2 separate regions of the Homo sapiens genome follow, and region 2 is linked to region 1. The links are contacts of gene promoters, found by promoter capture Hi-C in blood cells and fetal thymus (Javierre and others, 2016). All regions are on one chromosome and are shown on one strand. Each heading gives the region's core, a stretch centred on a gene start or on the middle of the fragment in contact. The rest is flanking DNA. Distances are from core to core; before and after follow the strand shown. Region 1 holds the start of NKD1-AS1 (NKD1 antisense RNA 1). Region 2 has its middle 47 kb from the start of NKD1.

Evidence for each region. Contacts are between HindIII fragments. The CHiCAGO score rates a contact against its expected background, and 5 or more counts as called.
Region 2: a contact is called between a fragment that was not itself captured here and the fragment with the promoter of NKD1-AS1 in region 1, in 5 of 17 cell types (total CD8 T cells, non-activated CD4 T cells, naive CD8 T cells and 2 more). The highest score is 7.1, in total CD8 T cells.

What each region holds. Positions count from the first base shown.
Region 1 is chr16:50,612,378-50,615,398 of GRCh38, reverse strand. NKD1-AS1 (NKD1 antisense RNA 1) reads left to right here and starts at 1,749. Exons shown (of 3, transcript XR_007065197.1): 1 at 1,749-1,808. The region is part of intron 4 of NKD1 (NKD inhibitor of Wnt signaling pathway 1); the gene reads right to left. The HindIII fragment of the contact is 2,641 bases long and covers 743-3,021 here.
Region 2 is chr16:50,499,672-50,502,652 of GRCh38, reverse strand. No RefSeq gene overlaps it. Among named protein-coding and RNA genes, the nearest start is that of NKD1, 47 kb to the left of the region's middle. The HindIII fragment of the contact is 3,556 bases long and covers 1-2,981 here.

The DNA.
Region 1 (3,021 bases), core at 500-2,999:
TCATTTAATCATCAGAATCTTCCATCAGCCCAATATCTATACCCTGAGATATATATGTCTATAGTGCAGTGTCTATCACACTATAGGTGCTGCATCATCAGCAGCATCATCAAAATGAAACAACGGTAAGTAGCAGAACCAGGATTTGAACCCAGAAGTTGTGGAACAAAGAGAACTAAATCCCAGTTTCCCAACTCCTCAACCACTGGCCTGTCCACTCTCTCAGACCACAATAGCTGACACCTGTTCCTGCCTGTCCAGCAATCCTTCTCCTCCTTCTGATGATAGCATCTGGCTTTCCTCCCCAGAGCTACTCATCCCCCACTCTCAGTCTATCTAGTTTATGGAGACTGATCCCACTCCAGGGTCACACTGCACTCAGTACCCCTACCTGACCCAGCTTGTTTCATCCTGAAGGCCACGTGGCTGGTCCTAGGTCAGTATGAAAGAAGAGTTTATGAAGAAGCTAATGAAGCTAGGCTTCTGGGCCCTCTCACCTACACGGGCCCTTTCCAAGTCAGGATGGGTCTTTGCAAGGTGTTTATGTGGTCATATGTGTTTGTATTTGTAACATTTTCCAAATTAGGCATTTTATCCTCAATCTATTAAGATTGTCATCTAACCATTCTGACATCCTTTGCCTGTGTGAGGTGATACTAGGGGAAATACAGGCATTTCTGGACATGAGCTAAGGAGAGACTGAGTTGGTGAGATATTTATTTTGGTTTGGCCCCAGAAAGCTTCAGGTCCCATAAAACCTAGATCTACCCTGGTCAAGTGACCAGTAAAGTGGTCAATAAAGTGAGTCCAACATGTGCAAGAACCCCTGTGACCTGGGAACTTTCTTCCACCTGACAGGGCTGTGCTCATAGGATGGGAGTGCCCAGAGCTGGGAACTGCCACCCTTGCCCCCTGTGGGGGAGAAGCCACCAGGGGACAGAGGGAGAGATGATGGAGAGGGAGAGAGAGGGGCAGCGAGCGAGACATGTGTGTGAATGTGTGAGTATACGTGTGTGTGTGAGTGTGTGTGTGTGCGTGCATGTGTCCATGACATGGTTTTAGCTCCAGAATCCAAACAGGCCTTTTTAGGCAAGATCTACCCTAGGATTTTTCAATTTCATGAGCCAAAAGTTTAAGTGAGTTTCCAAAAGAACCGAAAGAATCCTGACTTAACAAATCCGTCTCTCTGAGATCCTGCTTTTTAGGAAAAACCACCAGCACCAGCACCACAGCAGTAATTCACTCACCCAGGGCAGTCCCTCTAGGGTGATTTCCAGCTTTTTCACCTGTGGGTGTCTGCCCCTTCCTGAGACCAGAAATGCCACCAGGGACTTCTTCTCCACCATCCTGCCTCCCAGCTGCATTTTACTGCCACTAGATTTTGCTTATGGACCAATTGTAACTGAGGGGAAACAAAAAAGGGGGAAAAGCGGGTAGGGGAGGAAATCCTTCTCAACAAATAACATTCTGGCCTTTTTTTCCTCATCAGAGCATAAGGCTGGTGGCCACTCGGCTTTGACATCTGAACAGGATTGAGACGAAACATCTGTTCAGGGAGGGAGGGGGAAGCCCCGGGAGAGAAGGGGAAAGGGGAGAAAAAGCCTTCTGTGGGCTAAAAATATCACGTCCCTTCCACTCTCCCCCGCCCGCCCCCACCCAAGTTAAAACATGTGATGAAATTCGGCTTTTACAATCTAACCCCGAGCTACTTGAAACTATTAAAGCCTCTCCGGTATCTGACACAAGTCAGAATTTCCACTGTTCCAGCTGAGCTTTTATGAGGAGCAGACTTGAGAGAAACTGCCAAGGTAACAAAGTCCGCTTGTTCTCTGTCACCGCTGCAACTCAGCTTCTGGGGGGACTGTAGGGGAGTGGAGAGTCAGGGCCGCTGACACCCCCCGACAGGACAGGCTCTGAACTGAGGGAGAGGAGCCGGCGGGGCATGGGCACCTGCCCCTCCATCTGGGGGTCCCTGCTGCCTTCCCATGAACTCCTCTTCCTCCCAGCCTTCCTGGGAAGCCACCGCCAGCCCTGTGTATTGAGGAGCCTTGCCCGAGAGTCCCGGGCAATGTCCGTGGCTACTTCCTGAGAAGTCTTGACTCGCTCTCTCTCTCTGTTTCTTGCCCAACTGCTCCTTGAACCCCAAGCTCCAATCACCAGGTATCCCACGGCCTCCTCGGTACCTCTCCTTGGATGTTAAATGGGCATCTTGAACCCAACTGGTCCAAAAACGGGAGGCTTGATGGTCACCCGCCAAAACCTCCACCTCAGAAGTGACACCGCCAAATCCTTAGTTCCTGAAACCAAAAGTCTAAGATGCATCCCTGATCTCTCTCGTTCCCTCAACCCCCTTCTCACCAGCTCCAACCTCCAGCCCCATGGACCTCTCCCCAGCCCCAAGCTCCCAGGCTAGGCCAGCACCATCTCCTCTCGCCTGCGACCCTGCAGTCACCTCCTGGTTTCATTGCCCTCTTCCTCCCTGCCCATGGGCAGTCCCTCCCAGAAGCCAGAATTAACTTCTTAAAACAGAGGTCAGAATCCAGCAGTCACCCACCCAACCATCTGGGCAGAACCACGCAACCTAAGGGCGTGGTCCCACACTTGCCGACCACCCCACTCTCATTCCTGATGCCACATCGGCCTCCTTTTTGTTCTTCCCCAAACACCAAGTTCCCTCCACTCTGGGGTTCTGCTCACTCATAGCTGCTCTCCCCCTACATTCTTCCATGGCTGGCTCCTTCCTGGCATCTGCATCTCAGCTGAAACATCACCTTCTCAGAAAAGCCTCCTCACTCTACCTCTCCCTGGGTTTTACGTCTTAGCAGAGAACCACTACTAGAAACTTCCATGCTCCTTCGCAGATTTATGTATTCATCCCTGCCTCCCTCCTGTGAATGTCGTGACTGCTGGGCCTGCCTACCTTGCTCGTGCCTGTGAACCCAGGGCCCAGCAGAGCCCCTAGCTGCAGCAAATGCCCAGCACATACTGAATGGTGAGGAGTGAGGGGCCAGATTCTGTTCT
Region 2 (2,981 bases), core at 149-2,648, 110 kb after region 1:
GTAACTGAGGAGAGTTTAATGATGGGGGTATTTATGCGGGCAGGGAACCAGAAGGGGAGGTGGGGCATCCGGGGAACTAGCACCATGGGAAGCCCTTACAGCCACTAGACCCGAAAGACAAGGGGACCAAGCAGTGATCAGAGCCCAGAGAGGGTGATGGGTGAGAGGTCCACTTGATAAGAGCTGTGGCTTTTCAGGGGAGAAAGACTGCACCCACCAAAGTGTGGCCTGGCAGGGAGAGGACTAGAAAATGTATGGCTCCACTGCTCTCTCCTACCTCCTTCCCATCTCCCAGCGGTGCCTCCTATTGGCCAAACCCAAGCAAAAGCCGGAGGACAAGGAAGATGAAAGTCAAACAAGCAGCTTCCATGAGCCCTGTATGCAGACAGCACTGGCCCAGTGCTGGGGAGTTGCTGGCCCTTCTCCTCCAGGTCAGCCTGGTGTGTCTCTGCAAGTCTGGAGCAGCAGGGAGGGAGTAGGGGTAGTGATACTTCCACTGCACTTTGGTCTTCAAAAGTGTCCTATTTTCTGAAAGATGCAGGTTAAGGGACTGAGCTGTCTCTGGCATGGAGCAGGGTCTGGAGGGACAAAGAGAGAGCAGCCAGCATCCCACGCATCATGCAACACCCCCCTGCAGCATGCCACATCTGTACCATCCCCAGCTTGTGCACATCCAGGGATGCAAAACTCACCCACACTTCCACCTGCAAGCAGCCTATCCAAGTGTGAAGATTCCATATCTCAGTTCCTGGCAAAATCAAGTTCTGGGATTGGGGAACAGGTCACATCCATACTAGGGAGCAAGTGCTATTTGAATGTCAGGAGGGTGAGACTGGGAGCTACTGGGCAGGCCTGCTGCATTGCTTGGCAGGGGTGGGGTAGTAAACGCAAAGCGAAACCTATCTCCCATTTGTTCACCTTCTCTTGATCTTGATTTTTCTGCCATCTTATCAGAATCCTAATAGACACCATGAACATATATTACCTATCACCTTTAGGGAAAATGGGACACTTTTAGAGACCGAAGTGCAGTGGGGGTGTAACTACTCCTACTCACTTCCTGCTGCTCCAGGCTTACAAAGACAGACCAGGCTGGCCTAGAGGAGAGGGGACAGCAACTCCCCAGCACTGGGCCAGCGCTGCCTGCACACAGGGCTCATGGCAGCTGCTTGCTGACTTTGTGCCCATAGACCTCCCTTTCTCTGTCAGTCCCAGAGGCAGCAGTGGAGGGGACTGGTGTTGGGGGAAACAGGGCATCAGGAGACCCAGGTCCTCATCTGCTTCTGCCACTTTCTGGCTGTGTAGCTCTGGGCAAAACCTGCCCTGCCCTGGGTCTCAACTTCCCAACTTAGAAGGAAAAGGGACTTTGTTCCTGATCTTGGCCAGCCTACATGGAAGAAGAGACCCTTCTCTCCACCTGCAGAATCCTTTCCTTCCTCCTCAACTTTCTTCTCTCCAAAAGGTGCAAATGAGGCTGGGCACGGTGGCCCACACCTGTAATCCCAGCGCTTTGGGAGGCTAAGATGGGAGGATCATTTGAGCACAGGAGTTTGAAACCAGCCTGGGTAACAGCAAGGCCCCACCCCCCTACAAAAAATGTTTAAAAATTAGGGCTGGGCGCGGTGGCCCACACCTGTAATCCCAGCACTTTGGGAGGCCAAGGCGGGAGGATTGCCTGAGCTCAGGATTTTGAGATCACCCTGGGTAACAAGGGTGAAACCCTGTCTCTACTAAAATACAAAAAATTAGCTTGGCACGGTGGTGCGCGCCTGTAGTCCCAGCTACTGGGGAGGCTGAGGCACGATAATTGTTTGTGCCTGGGAGGCGAAGGTTGCAGCGAGCTGAGATTGTGCCACTGCACTCCAGCTTGGGCCACAGAGTGAGACTATGTCTCAAAAAAAAAAAAAAATTTAGCCAGGCTTGGTGGTGTGCACCAGTAGTCCTAGTTACTAGGGAGGCTGAAGTGGGAGAATCACTTGAGCCTGGGAGGTCGAGGTTGCAATAAGCCATGCATGATTGCACCACTGCACTCCAGCTTGGGCAACAGAGCAAGACCCAGTCTCAAAAAAACAAAACCAAAACAAATAAATAAATAAATGGTGCAAATATTTGCTTCCACCCTGAAAAGTTAAATCCTGCTTTTTATCTGTGAGTACCCTGGAGTTTTGCAGGGCCTCTCGAATATTATCACATTTGGTGCTTTGCAAACAACTCCCTCTGCTTTGCCTGTTCAGCTACAGCATGAGCAGAAAGGACGAGAGAGGACCCAGGCATCCCTGACCCCCTCCTTAAGCCAGAGACTGTGACTGTCCCACTCCCTCTGCCCCGCCCTTCCACCCTCCCTCCCTGGGTTGTCACTGCATGACTTTGGCAGGGTAGTTTTCCTCTCTGAGCCTCAATTTTCTCATTGGTTAAATTGGGGTGCTAATAATAACCACCTCAGTGATGACACATGAAGCATTTAGCATGATGTCTGGCACACAGTAAACATTCAATGGACGGGAGAGGTTGTCATTGTTTTTTCTGTCCACAAGGAACCCTGGAGGTACCCGCCTCATGTTCTATCCTCCTTGGAGGCTTGGGGCAGTTGGCCATTCTCTGAAAAGCCAGCCTGTTCTGACACTTGCCTGTCAAGTCATTGATTAGGCCTCCATCACTGTATTCCCTGTCTTCCCTTCCCTAGGGTTCCAGAAGGAAAATGCTGCCGAGGGTACTGTGGAAATGAGGCTGAAAAAGCCTTCTGTATGATGCAAAGGATGGCATGCTTCTAAGGAATAAAGGAAAATATGTTGATCTTTTCATCTATACATGCTTGTCACCTCAAATAGGTTCTAAACTCTTTGGGGGTGGAAAATAAAGGCAGGAAACTAATGTTGATTAAACACTGTGGTTGACGTTACAATGCTCTGCAACATCAGGCTCAGTTTTCCTTCCTGGACATACAGAAAACTATATATCCCAGTACCCTTGCTGTGAGGTGG